Regions from separate parts of the Homo sapiens genome. Here all the other regions are linked to region 1. The links are contacts of gene promoters, found by promoter capture Hi-C in human tissues and cell types (Jung and others, 2019). All regions are on one chromosome and are shown on one strand. The core of a region is centred on a gene start or on the middle of the fragment in contact, and the rest is flanking DNA. Distances in the headings are between cores, read along the strand shown. Region 1 holds the start of PTPRZ1 (protein tyrosine phosphatase receptor type Z1). Region 2 overlaps PTPRZ1 (protein tyrosine phosphatase receptor type Z1). Region 3 overlaps PTPRZ1 (protein tyrosine phosphatase receptor type Z1). Region 4 has its middle 94 kb from the start of PTPRZ1. Region 5 has its middle 71 kb from the start of PTPRZ1. Region 6 overlaps PTPRZ1 (protein tyrosine phosphatase receptor type Z1).

Region 1 (3,060 bases), core at 351-2,850:
TGAACTCTCAGTGCACAGTCAGTTTATACACCTGCATACTTCTTGTAATGCTAGCAAAAAAAAATGGCCCCCAAATTTTCTTCCTATATGGAAACTCACATGAGCAGCCATCAATCCCCATCATAATTCTTGTAAAAGTTGTAGCATTTCTATTTCTGTTCATGGAAAGAATAAGATCAAGGATCAACTTCTTAATATTGATATGTGTTTCTGAATAAACACTAAATGGTTTCAAAATCTGTTATTACATGACTATAATCTATTCCTGAAGCAACAGCAAACTGCCATTAGCTTGCACATTTAGCCAAATGTTCACAGGCTGGGATATTAGCAAGAACTCGTAGTAACACTTGAAATACATTCAGAACCCAATTTTATGTGCAGGAAGTTTTCTTTAAAATTTTTAAAGCTAGAATACTATTTTTGAGACAAGAACAGGACACAAGAGTATACACTGTACAGATACCTACTTCAAATTGTTACTAAGAATACATGGGATAATTCCACAACTTGGCTTTCTGTGCCTTAGATGGGACTCCTAAAAGGCTCTAAAGTGGGTCTCATATACGAAAAACATGTACTAATAGTTAAAGGATATCATATAAATGAAAATCTCATAAATTTTCAGTGTAGAGACTACCACCAATTACCTTCTCATTATTTCCTTTTGGCTTCAAATTAATTCAACAAATATTCAGGGAACACCTATTGATTTTTTTTAAGGCCATTTTGCTAGGATCTGGGGTTATAGTAATAAAGGTAAACTCCCTGCCATCAAGGCGCTCACAGTCTAATTCTGAACACCACCAAAGAAAAGAGCACATGAGGGTGACATTTCCAGCTCTAAGGCAGCAGAAGGTATGCATTATACATTTTTTGCATACCCTTCAATCAAGCAATAAAAAATCTTCCCGTTCGACCCTGTGGGAGGAGGCACTTGTGTGGTTCGGTCTGGCAGGACCACCGCCGTGTTGAAAGTCCCCCCAGACAGCTGTGCCCAGCACGGCAGTTTCGTTGGGGTCTAGGGAAAGGGCAGGGTCAGACTGGTCACAATCAGGGCTGGAGATTTTTTGGAGTCAACTCTCCCAAAGGCAATGGGGTCTACTGCTTTATTAGGAAAATGGAAAGAAAAAAGGGAGGGAAACAATGTACCCAGGCGCCCCCACCGCATTCTGATTGGACCCACTTAAGCATCTGCAGAAAACAATAAAATGAAAAAAACTCTTAGAGGTGAAACTCAAAGGTCAACCTCTGGCTGTGCGGGACAATGGGTGTCCGGCCTTCCCTTCCCTTCCCTTCCGAAGTGATGAAGGAGTTCCAATGTTCTGCGAACACTGGAAACCCCAGCGGATCCCTCTAACTCCAGGGCAGCGAAACCACTGGCAGCGGACAGAGGGAGGATTGTCGGTGTGTGAATTGCTACCCTGGGATCCGGACCCAGAGCGGCAGCCGCGCCCCTCCGCCCCCCGCGCGACCCCGGGTCCGAGGCACGCTCCCAGCGGAGCGGTCCTGCGCCCCCGCCCCCTCCAGGAGCCGCGGCGCGCACAGCCGGGCTGGAGCGCGCACCCGGCACTGAGGCTTCGCTGCTCTCGGAGCGCTCAGACCGCGGCCGCCGCAGCCGGCGAAAGAGGCAAAGTCCCGCACGCCGGAGGACATGCGCCTCGGCTAGCGGCCCCGGGCCCCACCACCGTGCGGCTTTCTCCAGATTATTCCTCTCTCGCTGTCTCTGACTGTCTCTCTCTGTCTCTGTCTCTGTCTCTCTCTCTCTCACACACACACACACACACACAAACACACATACGCACGCACGATCTCACTTCGATCTATACACTGGAGGATTAAAACAAACAAACAAAAAAAACATTTCCTTCGCTCCCCCTCCCTCTCCACTCTGAGAAGCAGAGGAGCCGCACGGCGAGGGGCCGCAGACCGTCTGGAAATGCGAATCCTAAAGCGTTTCCTCGCTTGCATTCAGCTCCTCTGTGTTTGCCGCCTGGGTGAGTGAGAAGAGCTCGGTGGGGTTTCAGCTCCGGGATCGGTGGGATGAGGGTGGGAGCATTTCAGCGTGTCCGCGACTTGCCGCCGCCGCCGCCATCTAGCCAGGAGGAAAAAGGGACAGCCAACTGGGCTCCCACGGAGCGGGCGGCCGCGCGGTGCAGGCAGCTGCGTGGGATTTGCGCGCCCCCTCCCCGCCCCGCGCCCTCGCCCCTTCCATCGGCCCGCGGGCATTCGTGCCCCGGGCCCCAGGAGACGGAGCTACTGGAGACGGAGGGCTACTCGGATCCCTGCCGCCACCGTTCTTCTCTCCTCTTTTGCAAAGTGTAGAAATCGCCTTTTAGATATACATAGGAAGATAAATGACCAGAAATACAGCTGTGGTGCGGGGCTGTGTACTGTACTGTCTTTTTTGCTGTTCATTTTTATGCTATAGGTATGATGGGCTTAAATGGAAAGTACACGTGTCTGGTGTGAATTGCAGACACACACACACACACACACACACACCTGAAAGGTAGTAACAGGCACAAGCACCAACCTGACTTTTCAGGGTTTTTTTTATTACTTTCAATTTAGTCATATTCAAGTCTGCGCAATTACTTACAAAAAAAAAAGTTCCATCTAAATCTCTAGGTTTGGTCAGTGCTGCCAAAGTCAGAGGAGAGCTGCAGGTTGATATACTTATTCACAGATTTCATTTTTCATCTGCACCCTCCAGGTTACATTTAAAACTGAAATTGCATTCAGCAATAGCCAGTTTAAGCATTCCCTTTACCTGCGATGCAGACTCAAGTTTTCCAGTCATTTTCGAGAAGTGCAAGATTGGACTTTTGCGTTTTATTAAAGAAATGCTTTTTTTCCTTCATGATTTTCCATCGCGATAGAATATAATGGGTTTACGCATTAACCTGAAAGTTACAAAGTGTTGTACTTCGCTTTGTGAGTACACATATTTAATTCTTTTCAGAGGCTCCCAATTTTTCAATTTTAGATGGTTCATAGTAGAGTAGATATTAAGCGTACATTTTCATCCAATAGATGGTGCTGCTCTTGGCACAGTAA
Region 2 (3,060 bases), core at 299-2,798, 110 kb after region 1:
TATTAAATGGCTTGCCCAAGTTTACACAACTAGAAAGGAATGGAGTCAGTATTTGAACCCAAGTCTCCCTGAATCTAAAGCTTTGCAAACTTCTGTCCACTGTACTTGACATTTATACAGGAACATAATTTCTGCTTACATAAAAAACTGATGACTTTAAAGACATGAAGCTTCAAAAAAATAGTAATGGATTTTGAGTGTTTTGTTTATCCTAAGGTCAAACACAGAAACAACACTTTCTTAACTACTTGGTGTTTTGGGTTCTAGAAATACATGATAGGACCTATAAAGTAAGGAAAATAATTTTCTTGAATGGAGCTTGTAGGAATCGATTTTATTCCCTTAGACTATGTGTGTATATTGTCACAGAATTTCACATCCCTGCTGCAATACTATTATGACTGCCATAGTAATAATAATTTATTTATCACCTATTTGTCTGTGGTTTGGTTCCAAAATAAATGGCAGAACTAACTAGAAAAACAGCAACTCAAAATAGACTCACTCATTTAAATTGAAGGGACTTAAATATGCAATACTTAAGGAAAAACTAGAAAGTTTAACAATAAAAATGCACATTTACAGGCTGTTTTTGTTGTCTACTTATCCTATATGTGTGCCTTCCCCAGCTTCCTCAAGAAAATCCAGTCACACCAACTACTTTGTTATGTTTGTATTTTTGACTAAATATTTATGGAGTGATGGGGAGAGGCTACAAAACTCAGCATCTCATCAAAATATCTGCCTACAGCTTAGACAATATTGCTTATATAGTGTTATCCGCTTATATTGTATATCCTTAGGATAAATAAAAGTGCTCAAAAGACAATCCTAGTTTTTATTAGTGTTTTGTATCTTTATGGCCATCAGTTTTTATTCTAAAATTATGTTAGCAGAAACACATCTCTTCTGCAGTCTCCCTTGCTGGGCCTTAGAGTCTTTGCCTTCAGATTGTTTGACCCTCCTCTTTGGTCAGTTCCCCTCACAGAGTCTCAGCTGCTACCCTCATCCCACCCAAGTCTTCACGTCTTCTTAAGGCAGGAAAATTAGCTTTGTCCCAGGTCCTTCAAACTTGCCTGCCCGTGCTCATCCTAATGAGCTCAGCAATCAAAAAAGGCCCTTTTTGGTAGAATGATTTATTTTCTTTTGGGTGTATACCCAGTAATGGGATTGCTGGGTCAAACGGTAGCTCTGTTTTAAGTTCTTGAGAAATCTCCAGATTGCTTTCCACAATGGCTGGACTAATTTATATTCCCACCAACAGTGTATAAGCATTCCCTTTTCCCTGCAGCCTCACTAGATGCAATGTTTGTTGGCTTTTTAATAATAGCCATTCTGAATGGTATGAGATGGTATCTCATTGTGGTTTTGGTTTGTATTTCTCCGATGATTAGTGATGGTGAGTAGTTTTTCATATGTTTCTTAGCAGTTGTATGCCTTCTTCTAAGAAGTGACATATGCACTTATATGTTCATTGCTGTGCTAGTCACAATAGCAAAGATATGGAATCAACCCATGTGCTCAGTGGTAGATTAAAAAAATGTAGTACATATACACTATGGAACACTACACAGTCATAAAAAATGAAATCATGTTTTTTTGCAGCAAGATGGATGGAGCTGCAGGTCATAATCCTAAGTGAACTAATGCAGGGACAGAAAACCAAGTACCTCATGTTCTCACTTATAAGTGGGAGCTAAACATTAATTACACATAGACATAAACATGGGAACAGTAGACACTGTGGTGTACGAGAGAGTGGAGAGGTGGGTGAGTTAAAAAGTCTCCCTATCAAATATAATGCTCACTAGCTGAGTGATGGGATTTGTACTCTAAACCTCAGCATCTTTTAGTATTCTCATGTAACAAACCTGCATATGTGCTCTTCTATCTAAAATAAAAGTTGAAGTAAAAATAAATAAATACATAAATATTTTTTAAAAGGGGCCCTTCGTTTGCCAAAACATATCCCCTTCTAGGGGGGATCAGAGATGATACAGAACTTTTTTTTTCTGGTTACATAGACTAATATGCACATTTATGATTTTAAAGTTTCAATCATTGTCAAAATATATCATTTTGAGACAGCAATGAAATAGAAAAGTCAGGTCATGTTGGTTGGATGAGTCTCATCCATACAGTTACATATTCAGTCGATTCTTTTTTGGATTTAATACAAACCACTGTCAAATAATTAATATGCCCTTATGCGTATAGGGCCTTTCTGATTCCTCTTTCTTCTGAACCATCATAATCCCTGACCTGCAGCTGTGGCACTTTGCCTTTCTTGCCTTGCTTCAGGGGTGTTTATGTGCATGCCTTAGTTTCTTAGTAGATCCCTGTCTAATTGATCTCAGTGTTACCTGTAACATCTGATAAAGTACCTGGCAGGTAGTAAGAGCCCTTTGATTCCTTGATGAATGGTGAATAAGTGAATGAATTAAAACATTGGCCAAAGCTTACTCATGTCTAAGCCTCTGGGGTTAAAAAGAGCATATGTGTTATTGGCAACAAACACAGAAGGAATGACTGGCTTTAGATTTCCAGACAGGTTGGAGCCAAGTTCTTCTTGCTGAACATCCTTTAAATAATTTAAAATTTGCAAAGCCTTCAGAAGAATACAGTACAGTAGGATTAGCATGTGTGTACAGTTCATGTTCAAAATTAAAGATCATTCCAGGAAAAGAAAGATTCTAATTTTAAAAAGATAGTATCAGTATTATGACAGAATTGTTATGAAATAGTTTCCTCTGTGACTGAAAAAAATAGCAAATAATTTACATTCTTCATTTTGACTCTGTTGATCCTCTGTAAAATTATTGTACTTAACAATAATGAACACCTAGCATATCAAGATTTATTATGTAATAATTTTTATAGATGTCCATTGTATAACAGTCTGCATTTACTGAAATCATTATAAAGAAGTGAGCTACTTGCTTTTATTTTTGCAGTTAAAAAAGAGGAGAAATGAATCTGATTAGACCCACAGAAATTAGTTGTTTCTTTCTTCACAAACTAGGACTTGCTGTTTCCATCACGAGTCTTTACACTCAATAA
Region 3 (3,060 bases), core at 288-2,787, 95 kb after region 1:
TTAGATAGAGCTTGCATAAAAGTTAGTTCTCACTGACTCACTTATCACAAAAGAAGACAGTGTAGACTAGGATTTTATCAAAGATAAATTTACTTATAATCCCCTAAACCTCAATCATGTAAAATCTTGGCCTTACCCGTTCTCATTTTCAGAAAGAAAAGCATTCAGAAGAATATAAAATGAAAACTACACTGCCACTCCTTTCTTCCTTGTGATGGCCATGGAAATGCTAGCGTTTAACCAGAGACTTGGACTCTCAATATTTCAAATGTTTTAAAAGAACTTTAAGTAGAATATACCTGTGCTTAGCACTGCTTGGGTGCTAAGTTAACATGCAGTGAAATAAGATTACGGGAGGTGATTCATGGTTTCAGGTAGGGGTGAAATAAAGGCAACAAAGGGCAGTTTGGGTTTAGAGGACGCTTCATACTGTGGAACATGTGAAAATTTAGTTTATTTTAAGCAAAAATCTTTATAGAAATCCCTGTTTTGCTTTTCTTATTGTTAAACAATAAAATGTGCTAGGCTTTACGACCAGAGAAAAATGGGAAGGAGATATTTTAAGGACAGCCTGATGATTATGTTTTTGTAAATAAGATCCCAAACAGATGGAAATTAAACCAAATCTTTCAATGACAGAGGGTGACAGTAGGTCTGAAGGCAGCTACTTTTATGGAGAGTGTTGAGGAAGTCAGAACTTTACTCCTATATCTGGATTCCTTTCAATCTGGAATCCTGGGCTAGGACTAACTACCTTACAGGACAATTAAGCTTTTTGTTGATTTGAAAGAATTGTGATGACTGGACAAAGCCATTGCTGAACCCTGAACTTGTCACATTATGAGAGGTGGCCATTAGATCAAGCTTGCATAAAAGTTAGTTCTCATTGACTCCCTGATCACAAAAAGAAGATGTTGTAGACTAAAGTTGTACCAAACCTTGGTTGTTGTTCTATAGACTTGTTTTTTTATAGTGGCATGGTTGTTCTACAGACCTTTTGTAGTGTTTCGTATTGAAATCCAGAATCTAAATACAGGCATAATTATTTCATGCATTAGTTCAAAGATGTCAAACATTTTTCTACTATTGCATCTATTTTTATGTAATGTATTAACTATAATGTAAAGTTTAATTTTTGCATGGTAATTTAAGAAACTAAATTTCTTACTCCTTCTTTTCCCTAGGAGCACTGAATCAAAAAAATTGGGGAAAGAAATATCCAACATGTAATAGCCCAAAACAATCTCCTATCAATATTGATGAAGATCTTACACAAGTAAATGTGAATCTTAAGAAACTTAAATTTCAGGGTTGGGATAAAACATCATTGGAAAACACATTCATTCATAACACTGGGAAAACAGGTAAAATATTTGCATTCTGTTTGCCTTTAATATATTTTTCAGACCTGGAGTATGTTTAGACTAGTTTCATCTCATTTTCCTTTGAATAGTGTACTATGAACTAGATAGAAGTTACATGTAGAAGAAACCAAATGGAGCAGAGAAAATGGGAAATTTAGACAATATTTTGACAATTTGTACAAAAAAAAAATGACCAATGTCATCATGTCATGTTTTCCTACAAGGTAACAATAATGATGCTGCCTCTAGAAGATGTGATAATGTGATTTACAGCTAATATAATTTAGTCAATTACTTAGTCAATCAGGATTTCTTTTTCTTGAGCATTATAGTTTGATCTTTTCTGCCTAGCCTCATGTTATAGTCAGTATTTGGATATGAAAAAAGCAATTGGCTATAATTGAAATTTAAGAAAATAAATTCCTAGCTCTTCTATATAGAAGGTTTAAAGTTGTATCCCATCCTTAGGAAACCCTCTCTAAGTGTCTTTTTATTGAGCCTATCTTTTTTTTTTTTTAAAAAAAAGCAAAATATAATACATTAAAATTTAAGTACAAATTCTAATAAGCTATACATAGATAAATAATTTCCAAAAAGTGACACCTTTTCTTTTTTGATATTCTAGTTTTTTTAAAAATTGTATTTTGGGAAATTATGTAAAGGCAAATATACACGTAAGACAAAGATTAGAAAAATATTCAAAATTATAATAGTAGCTCTATGGGGATAAGCTTTATCATTGGTGAATTTTTTTTATATTTTCTATATTTAGGTAATGTAATTATTTGAACATAATAATTTAATTTCAAAACTCAAGAGAGTAGTAGTCAGGCACTGTGGCTCACGCCTGTGATCCCAGCACTTCGGGAGGCCGAAGTGGCTGGATCACTTGAGGTCAAGAGTACCAGACTAGCCTGGCCAATATGGCAAAAACCCATCTCTACTAAAAATACAAAAATTAGCTGGGTGTGGTGGCACACTCCTGTAATTCCAGATACTCAGGAGGCTGAGACACAAGAATCACTTGAACTCAAGAGTTGGAGGCTGCAGTGAGCCAAGATCATGCCACTGCACTCCAGCCTGGACAACAGAGTGAGATCCTATCCAAAAAATCAAATCAAAACAAACAAACAAACAAAAAACAACTCCTGCTGGGCGCAGTGGCTCACGCCTGTAATCCCAGCATTTTGGGAGGCCAAGGTGGGTGGATCACCTGAGGTCAGGAGTTCAAGACCAGCTTGGTCAACATGGCAAAACCCCACCTCTACTAAAAATAAAAAAATTAGCCAGGCATGGTGGTGCATGCCTGTAATCCCAGCTACTCGGGAGGCTGAGGCAGGAGAATTGATTGAACCCAGGAGTCGGAGGTTGAGTGAGCTGAGATTGTGCCATTGCACTCCAGCCTGGGCAACAAGAGCGAAACTCTGTCTCAAAAAAAAAAAAAAAAAAAATCTCATGAAAGTAGAGATTTTTCTACATCAGTGCCTGATATGTAATAAACACTAAGTATTTCTTGAATGAATAATTTTTAAAATTATTATGTTACATGTAATAATTACCTAAAAGTATATTGTCCCAAATCTTGACATTATTATTTTCAGTTTTGAAGGGTGTTAGAAAGCAGTAGGGCATGGAACCTCTGCTTTGGTTTTTTTATTTTTATTCTTTTTATATATATATTTTTATTATACTTTAA
Region 4 (3,060 bases), core at 146-2,645, 94 kb before region 1:
TTCATTTTAGAGTGGAATCCATGTTTTAATACCTTGAAGTGGATGGAGAGTTACGGAAACAACCTAAAATATTTCTAAGAAGCCTGGAAAAAGTGATTGAACAGAATATGGTTGAAAGAGCAATTGGAGAAAAGAAAACTCTGTTATATTTTGGCTCTACCAGGGTGAAACTTTAGTAAACCAGCTACCTCTATAAATATTGAGCAGCATCTTGTACATATTTGACAATGGAACCACAAAGAGTTAACTGCAAATAACTTGCAGCCTTGTTAACCTTAAACTACCAACAAGCTTGGGTAAGAAAATGGACTACAAATCATCAGTTTAGTAGGGATCCCTGTTTTACCACATATTGCAAAAATGTCTTTAAATATCCCTTACTATTTGTCATCAAATACATATATACTCATATTTTTGATACACAAATCTATCTTTGTTTTACCATCTTTGTAAACATCAAAGTCACAGAGCCAGGAATATGTCACAACTTTCTTCCAACTTCAATTTTTGACTTGCTTTTACATCTTTTTCCTATGTAGTCTGACGGAGCTTAGAAAAAATAATTTAAATTCTTTTTGTCTATTCCCTTTTCAATCCTCTGAAAACTATGCAAAAGAACAGAAATATATCCACCAACTTCTGTATGAAGTCACCAAGAATACCGCAACCAGCAAAGAACTCCTCTCTAAAAACGTGGCTCATCCCCTCGAAAGGTAAAGGTATATCTCTTTCTTCCATTTGGGAGTTGGATTGAACTGTTTGTCTTCAGCATCAAAGGATTATAATCATCTACTTTTTTCACGCATAGATTTCAGCTGCAATATTGTTAAGCACGAAGTCTGTACATCACCATATAATCCCCTTATATTAAGATTTGCATTAATCTTTTTGAAAGCATTCAAAATGTTCAGTGTCCACTCTCATATTTTTCAGGAAGAAACATTTTTTAAAAGTTTGTGAAAAAAATAACGAAAACTATTCCTTCTCTCTCTTCTTCCCCTAGATGAATGAATTCTCCCCAAGCGTTCACATTTCCAACTTTGCTTTTGGTCTCCCTGACTACAGTTGACCCAGTTGGCCACTGTTTACTTGAATTCATTCTTCTCTTCTTAAAACATAATATTCCTATTTCCTCAGCTAAAGTTTCACTCTTTCCCATTTCCTCCCCTCTTTATGACCCATAGTGTGAAGCCAACCAAAGTTTTATTTGATATTTTGTTCCCCCCTTTCTATATACTCTCTATGGTTACCCATTCTCTCAGTTTCAGCTGTCACACTTAGGCTGGTGATTCCCTAAATTTATAATTTATGTCTTAGCTTTTAATTCTTTCCCATAATTTATTTCAGAGGGCATGTCCCTTAGGAGTCTGTCATCTGACATGTAAACAAGCCTTAAACCCAGCCAAACGTCCCTAGTCCTTAACTAGCACCCAAAATCTGCCTGTATTCAATCAGTTACATGCTGACCCTGCTCCACCTCATGTATTTGTACTTTCTTCATCTCCCTAAACTCCTCCCAAGGGCTGGCCAAACCCTAGCTATATCCTAAGTCTCTAGCTTCTGAGCCTGCCATTTTATCCTGCACACACCTGCCAGGATTATCTTTTAAACACTGCTTTCATCACATCAGTTTCCTAGACTCACATTCCCTTTACTGTGACATCTCATGTAAATTCTTGAGTCTGGTGTCTGAGGTCCTTCATCAATGGGGTCCACAACCTCCATATTTTCTAACCAAATATCTCATCACCCTTTAATATACCCTTGCTCTAGCTGAATGAAGGAAACCATCACCTCCCACATATATCTTAATCATCTCCTCTATGTGCTTTTATCACAACCTCAAATTCCTTCTTTGTCCTTTTTACTGGCCATGCTTATTACTGGCCTGCTTATTATTTCTATCTTTGGCTGTATAATGACTATAGGTTATGTCCATCCTGAGATGACAAAATGTCCTCTACTTCTTATGTAGTCTGTTTTTTTTAATTTGTCTTGAGGATCTCATGCTTAGTAGTCATCAAAGGTCATTTTTTTATACTGATGACAATCCAAGTCATTAATCAAATACATTGTCAACCTAAACATAAACAAAGTATGTATAACTTCAGATGAAAGGAGGAACTCATAAAAAGTCCCAATTTATCCCTAAATTCAACGAACATTTATTGGGCATTGCCACATGATGGGGAATATCACTATGCCTGCAACTAGGAATAAGAAGAGATATTGTAAAACCCTCCTAAAATCTAAAAATGCTCAATAGTTTGAAAGACTCATCTTAAAAATTATTTTCTCATTCACAGGCAGGCACCAGCCATTTTTCAAATCTTGATTAACGTTAGGTCATTTAAATATGAACCCTTTAAATCTAGGAGACAGTATATGGTAGTTGAAAGAATTCATTCATTTAACGAGCATTTTATTGAGTACCTTCTAGGTTCTGAGTACATGAATGAATGAGCTCCCTACTTAGGGAAATTGTTTTCATCTTACTGCACCTTCTGCCAAAGGAAATACATTTTACATTATTTTAAAATGAGGAAGCACATAAAGACATGGAATGCTTGCTTTCAGAAGAACTAAAAATTACTCTGCATGTTTAGTAATATTGTAATTAAAACTCTAAAAATCATCCTTATGCTAATATCAAGTATATAAATATCAATGGTTTCATCCTCAAAGGCAGACTGAAACCTTATCTACTCTCTAACCTTATATCATAAAGTTCTCTGGAAACACATCAGTGCAGTTTTCTTAACTTCTAAAAGAAAAGAAATACTTTAAACTGAAAGCAAGAATGCAGTATTTGTTTTATATAATTGAGCTATTTCCATAATTAAAATTCCAACTAATTTTTATGGGAAACATCCCTAAAGTTCTAAAAATGTTCATAAAAATAAAAATATTACAATTCCTCAGTGTATCTTGTTACAAATTAATTACTCTGGTAAGTTTCTGAACTCTTTTTTTTCATAGTTTATTGGTACAGATCTAGTGGTTTTCCTCATGTTGTTTTCTTTACCTGCTTTGCCATGTGGTCTCCCAGCATCAATAAAC
Region 5 (3,060 bases), core at 174-2,673, 71 kb before region 1:
ATATCCCAAGACAGAATGAAATAACCTTCAAGAAATATGTTATTGCAGGACATAGAATGACATCTATCTCATTGTCAATAACATAGTATTGTTATCGGACTAAGGGACAATGAGATAGAGGTCAAGGATCACTGTTTGTGGAGAGGTGGCATTTGAGCTCCTATTGAAAAAGGAGTAAGACTTTAGTCAGGTAAGGAGTGATCCCTAAGGGAAGGCATGGTGGTGAAAATCAGCCTTCTAACATTACAAGGTGCTATGCAACAGCTTTTTTGCAATCACAATTTTTCAGCAAGATGACTGGTGGAAGCTTACGTTTATGCTTGCCTTGCCCCAGGTCAATGGGCCTTGCATTTTCTCAGTCCACTAGTGGTGAGGTCAGTGAATTCTGCCTCAATTCCATAGGCTAGAAATATGTCTATATGGATTTTTTTTTTACCTCTCTTTTTTCCCATGTATGGAAGTAGGTATGGTAGATGAATCTGTTCAGAAATTTGGACATAGTGACATAAAGATAAATTGAATATTCAGAAAGTTTAGATGATCCAGCATGAATAGGTTAGAGTTGTTGAAAAATTGAACATGGTGATTAAAATCATACCTATCTGTTCAGTTTCTCTCAGGCATCTATCCTTTGGCCACATTTCCCAAGGGTGTTGGGAAAGTGTGCCTGAAGCATATCTTCCATGAATCATCCCTTTCTGATTTCCATATCTTGTTTCCTGTTCCTCAAAAGCCCTTCTACCTTCCCCAACACCTCAACAGCTGCTTTTTTCCTTTAAGTTATTTATCTCCCTTATGGGTACAACTGAAAATGACATGCTGTCTGTGTTGTCTATTCCAAACTACTGGATTTATAAGTGTCTTTGCAAATTAGTTCTCCACGGTTCTTTTAAGCTCTCATTCTACTTTAACAATACCGTCCTTATTGGGAAGCATGCATAGTATCTTATAGGTATGGTTTATGGAAGAAATGGAACTAAGAACTCCAATCAGTAGATCCATGCACAGGGAACTATGTAGAACATAAAAAATTGACGAACAAATGTGTATTTGTTTGGGTTAAGTTAAAGATATATATATATATACACACACACATATGCACACACACATACATCACTCATATGATATTCTACTTAAATGAACTTTTTGATAGCCACTCTTCTATCAGTCCTAACTTAATGGACAGATGGGTTTCTGTTGTATCTCCATTATGGTATTTTTTTTTATCATAAGCAGCCATTATTTATGTGTGTGACTCCCTGTGTGAGGGGGAGACTATGTCTTACTCGTGTTTAGTGCCTTCAATGCCCAGTAGATTACCTGAAACATTTTGTTTCATAAGTGTTTTTTTAATAAAAGGTCATATATTACCTCAGTTGATTTTCATAACAATTGATGAAGTAGATAATGTTGACATTATGCTCATTTCATAGATGAGAAAACCAAGACTCACAGAGGTTGAGTGATTTGTCCAGGGGCAAGGGCTTTAGATGAAAAGAACCTATCTTCCCAACTCATCTAAAGAGCTTATGGCAGCAGTAAGTGATGAAGCAAGTTTGATTTGGTGATTTTCCAGAGGAAGCTGGATCTTATCTCTCATAGGAAATGAGATCTCATTCAGTGGCCTATATAGAATTATTTTTCCTTTTCTAATTACCCAGGGTAATTAGAGCAGACAGAATAAACTACTCCTGCCTCCAAAAGCTTACCTGGTATTTTTTGTGTTCTCTTCTCCATAACTATCATTGATCTGATATTAATCATGTATATTCTCATGTGAATGGCATTAGAATAAGAAATGATAGGAAAAAAACCACCTCAGACTTCTTTTCAGGAGCTCCTGGGACTGCAGAGGCATATGGGACAGCAATGTCTGGTTCTCATTGCAGTTGCATAGAATTTAAGAAGCACTGTCATAAAGAGCTTTTCCAGCTTGACTTTGAAACCTAATAATCACTTATTCTGTTTTTATTTTTCTAACTGTTATGAGAACTACTATTTATTCAGCATCTTCTGAGTTTCCAGTACTCTACAGGCAATGCCTTATTTAATTCTCATAATAAACTGCCACTTTTTATTCACCTGTCAGATACCTATGCTCCCCTGATTGAAGAGAGATATCATTAATTATTGATTAGGTAACTAACCCCTGCTAATGTGTTGGCTAGCTAATCTGTAACCCTAGTGCTTAGAGGAAAAAATCTTATTTATTTAGAAGATATGTATCTCTAGAAGGTATCTATGGCAAGAATTTGAGATCACATAAATAGGAATAGAATTTGTATTGAGACTAGCTTTTTGAAGCCCTCAAATTAAATAAAATAGCTAACCCATCTGTCTCTACATAAAATCAATGCTGCTGAAAATATGCTCCAAGGAGTGCTTCAGTAACCTTGGTAATGACATGCAAGCTCCCTGCCCATAGACTCTCCTTGACTCATCAGGAAGTGCCATTTGGACAATTTTAGTTTAGGAAAGCAGCCAGTCTCCAGCCCAACTCCTGCACACCCTTTTCTTTGTCAGTAGAGGTAGAACTGGATTTAGAAAACATTTGCCTCTAAATATGATGTATCTAGATATAACAGCTCTTTGTAAATGGTGGTATAAACCTCAACGACTAGGAGCAGCTGTGGAGAGTGACACAGAAACTCAAGCAATCTCCCTTTCAAGTCTCTTCTAACACCATTTATAGTGAGAGAAGAGAGAGAACCATTTAAATAAATATTATGATGTTTGCCACAATGATATAGTGGAGAAATAGTCACAACGTATATTTGAGGAAGAAACACAGTTTATAGAAGATTTAAAAACCACCCGATTTTGAAATCGTTTATCTTTGGTAGAATCAGTACTTTTTGGGAACTGGTGGCATTTTGAACAGAAGTGATGCCTTTTGAACAACATCCACAGGACTACAGTGAAAACTCATTAGAGGAAGCAGGGTAAAATGCATAATTGGAAGAATGGTGGTCTCATGGTAAGCAGGAGGTATTGATAGGTGATGACAACCCCCAAAGCTAGAGCAACTTGCCTCTCCTTGCATTAGGACATGGCTAGGGC
Region 6 (3,060 bases), core at 273-2,772, 66 kb after region 1:
TGCTATTCAGCTCCCTAATTTAGTAGAATAACTTCTGATGACCAATAAAAAGGAGCCTATATACACACAGGCTGAGGAGACTTAGTGTGATAAGATGGTAGATGCCTTCTGATCGGATTCCATTAATGCCGAGATCCTTAAAGTGTAGAGATCTGAGCCATTATCTTCACAAGTATTGTAAGTGCCAATCTGATATTTTTTTCCCACAAGGAAAACACTTTTTTATTTATCATTATAAAAGTGTGTTCATCTAAGAAAATCATGTATGTATCATATATTTCATATTTCATATGTTTATATATATTTATCTACCTATCTATTAATATCTATCTATTTATCTATATAATTTCACCTTCCAGAGATAACTACTCTTAATGTCTTCTGTTGGGGAAATATAATTAAAAACAAAATCTCCCACCTCAGAAATCCTCTCCATAAATGTAATAACAACAACAACAAAAAGCAGTTTTATTATCAAACAAGCATTAAACCAGAATGTAATACACATCATAGGCAATCACTGAAAGATTGCGAAGATAGGAAGAAATCTCACCCCCCCATATAGCCAAATAGGTACAACCCATTGCATGTTTTCAAGATAAACAATAACTTGTCTTTAAGTAGAAGGACTTGGCAGCAACTTTGTCACACATGGTTCAGCTAAACTTTAACTGGTAATTGGAGTGACTATTTGTGTTACCCTATTGGCTTCATCCAGAGGGAAAATAAACTTCATATTTTTGAGACAAGAGGTAGCTTTACAAGTTGGAGCCAGAGGCTCATGGAAGTTAAGCTCCTGCCTTCCCATAGAAATTGGGAGAGTGGAGCACCATCTTCCTCGATGTTTGCATTTCATAAGGATGGCCCCCGGGTCCTTGAGAAAAACATCCTGGATCATAAAGCTGACAAAGGGCCTATCTAGCTTTCAAAAGGATTGATATACATTGCAAAACAAGGAGAAAGTATTTACAACGATCTCTTTTCTAAAGCAAATGCTCTTTAAAAAAGGACGGGGTGGGGGTGGAGAGAAAAGTGTCTTCCTGGTTTTCAATGGGGAGAATTAAGCCTCTTACTTTTACTTTTTATTTGTCCTTACACTTCCTAATTATGCATCCTGAATTCTGATGGCCTCTTACTAGATGTACTGCTTTTATCTCAATAGTAGTACCTGCTTTTATCTCAATAGTAGTTTGTGAATATCTTTCTAAGTAAATGTAACTAAATCAGTGTGAGGGCAACAGAAAAAATAAGCTTCTACCAGGGCAAAACTTTGACTATCCATGTGTCTGAGGCAGAGACTCACACATAGTAGGAGCCCAATATATATTTGATAGTTGTTACTTTATTTCCAGTCTCATGGGGAACAGAAATAATTTTGCCTGAGAGGAATTGTGACTAGTAATAACATAATTTCAGGGGATCATCCCAAATCCTTCTTGCAACAAATAGATTATACAAAAGATAAACACTGTGGAGTGAGTTCAGAGCAAGGCTTAGCATATAAGAAGTAGCTAAAAATCGTAATGAATTGGAAAACAGGGAAGGCTGCATTTTATAGTGCTTTGCCACCTGGAAATTGAAACAAAGGCAGAGCCACCTAGAACCAGTGCCAAAGCAAATCCAAAACTTGGCATATGCCAAAATATATTACCTCTAAACTCTGTAGTTTCCATTCTTTCATACTTCATTAGCATATCTAGGAAGTAAGATCTATTTGCAGCACTTTGAAAAAAATAAATAAATGACATGTAGTTTTTCTTTTCCAAGACCCTAAAAGTTTGTTCTTGAAGATCAGTTGTATTTATGCATATAACATACTCATATATCATTCAGATTTTTATGTTCAGTCAACTTGTGTTAGAATATGAAGGAGTAAACTTCTCATCAACTCCCTAGCTTGCCTTCTACCTTAATGATATTTTAAACTTACTGACAAAGGAAAATTTAAAGTGTGGATATTATTAGTTTAATCAATACTCATTGGATTGTACAGCGTAAGCCAGACACTGTACTAGGCATCAGAGATGCAGTGATGAGTGTAAGTAATCACAAGTATGCAAACAATAGTGATTAAGCGTGATTTTTTTTTTAAAGCATGGTAAATACCTCATGGAGATGGTGTTAATGTAAGGTACGGAACCCTAATTGGCCTAAGAGTTTCAGGGAAGGCTTACCAGAGAAAGCGACTTTAGATTCAGATAAAGCATAAATAGGAGTTAAATCAACATGGGTGAAAAATTGTGCCAGGCAAAGGGAGCAGCTATCCTAAGATCTGTAGGTGAAGGAGAAATCACTGTGCTCCAGCCTCTACCGCATTCTTCCTGCTTTTGGACAGAAAATTAGGAATGTGATGAGACAAGCTTCTTGGGGCCCACTGAATTAATTCCCATACACTTACCCTATTGAAAATTCTGGATAACAAGATTTATGCCATAGTTTGATTGGCAATGGCTTACATTTTAACTGTTGACTTCTTTGCATTTAAGAGATGTTAGGCATGATTTTACATCAGCACACTAGTTAGGAAACGAAAGGAAAAGGGACTAGTAAAAGAGTCCAAAAGAGAGGGGTATGAGAAAAGGAGCTTTACCTACTCCAAGAGGGGTACAGCTTCAAGTTGATAGGATTAATCAACATTGTCACACATAGTTCTGGGGAGTTCATAGTGAGATAAAGACTATGGACTTGGATGTATTTTAATGAAGCAGGTTGTAGTGGGGATTCTTTTGTTAGTTTGTCTGATGGGAATACAAGCTCCAGAGACAGTCCTACTCTTTCCTTCTAATCTGGGCTCCATCTTACATGTCATCTTTTTTGTCCCAAAGTTTTTCACCTGTAAAAAGAACTAATGTTAGTACCAAGCTCAGCAGGTGCTGCAATGATTACATGTGTAAGTATATACAAAGCAGTTAGAATAGTGTCTGGTGCATATAAAGTGCTCAATAAAATTATTATTTAAAGTCAGATAAATCTTCTGTCATATTCAGGACTTCTGACAGGTTTATGTCCATCACGCAATTATCTTTCAATAGTACAGATATAATTATATGATTCTCCCCA

The links. The method cuts DNA at HindIII sites, captures the fragments that hold promoters and counts their contacts. A contact is called where the count stands out against the background at its distance.
Region 2: a fragment that was not itself captured here is called in contact with the fragment with the promoter of PTPRZ1 in region 1 in 2 of the 25 tissues and cell types used here (H1 embryonic stem cells and neural progenitor cells).
Region 3: a fragment that was not itself captured here is called in contact with the fragment with the promoter of PTPRZ1 in region 1 in 3 of the 25 tissues and cell types used here (adrenal gland, aorta and hippocampus).
Region 4: a fragment that was not itself captured here is called in contact with the fragment with the promoter of PTPRZ1 in region 1 in 2 of the 25 tissues and cell types used here (IMR-90 fibroblasts and neural progenitor cells).
Region 5: a fragment that was not itself captured here is called in contact with the fragment with the promoter of PTPRZ1 in region 1 in 4 of the 25 tissues and cell types used here (H1 embryonic stem cells, bladder, hippocampus and 1 more).
Region 6: a fragment that was not itself captured here is called in contact with the fragment with the promoter of PTPRZ1 in region 1 in 4 of the 25 tissues and cell types used here (H1 embryonic stem cells, aorta, mesenchymal stem cells and 1 more).

The regions. Positions count from the first base shown.
Region 1 is chr7:121,871,561-121,874,620 of GRCh38, forward strand. It overlaps PTPRZ1 (protein tyrosine phosphatase receptor type Z1), which reads left to right and starts at 1,601. Exons shown (of 30, transcript NM_002851.3): 1 at 1,601-1,997. The coding sequence starts at 1,940. RefSeq lists an enhancer at 1,557-2,058. The HindIII fragment of the contact is 8,425 bases long and covers 1-3,060 here.
Region 2 is chr7:121,986,265-121,989,324 of GRCh38, forward strand. The region is part of intron 8 of PTPRZ1 (protein tyrosine phosphatase receptor type Z1); the gene reads left to right. Among named protein-coding and RNA genes, the nearest start is that of PTPRZ1, 110 kb to the left of the region's middle. The HindIII fragment of the contact is 4,212 bases long and covers 1-3,060 here.
Region 3 is chr7:121,966,767-121,969,826 of GRCh38, forward strand. It overlaps PTPRZ1 (protein tyrosine phosphatase receptor type Z1), which reads left to right. Exons shown (of 30, transcript NM_002851.3): 3 at 1,185-1,364. Among named protein-coding and RNA genes, the nearest start is that of PTPRZ1, 95 kb to the left of the region's middle. The HindIII fragment of the contact is 4,209 bases long and covers 1-3,060 here.
Region 4 is chr7:121,778,124-121,781,183 of GRCh38, forward strand. No RefSeq gene overlaps it. Among named protein-coding and RNA genes, the nearest start is that of PTPRZ1, 94 kb to the right of the region's middle. The HindIII fragment of the contact is 4,451 bases long and covers 1-3,060 here.
Region 5 is chr7:121,800,804-121,803,863 of GRCh38, forward strand. No RefSeq gene overlaps it. Among named protein-coding and RNA genes, the nearest start is that of PTPRZ1, 71 kb to the right of the region's middle. The HindIII fragment of the contact is 5,772 bases long and covers 1-3,060 here.
Region 6 is chr7:121,937,733-121,940,792 of GRCh38, forward strand. The region is part of intron 2 of PTPRZ1 (protein tyrosine phosphatase receptor type Z1); the gene reads left to right. Among named protein-coding and RNA genes, the nearest start is that of PTPRZ1, 66 kb to the left of the region's middle. RefSeq lists enhancers at 326-862, 863-1,399. The HindIII fragment of the contact is 4,183 bases long and covers 1-3,060 here.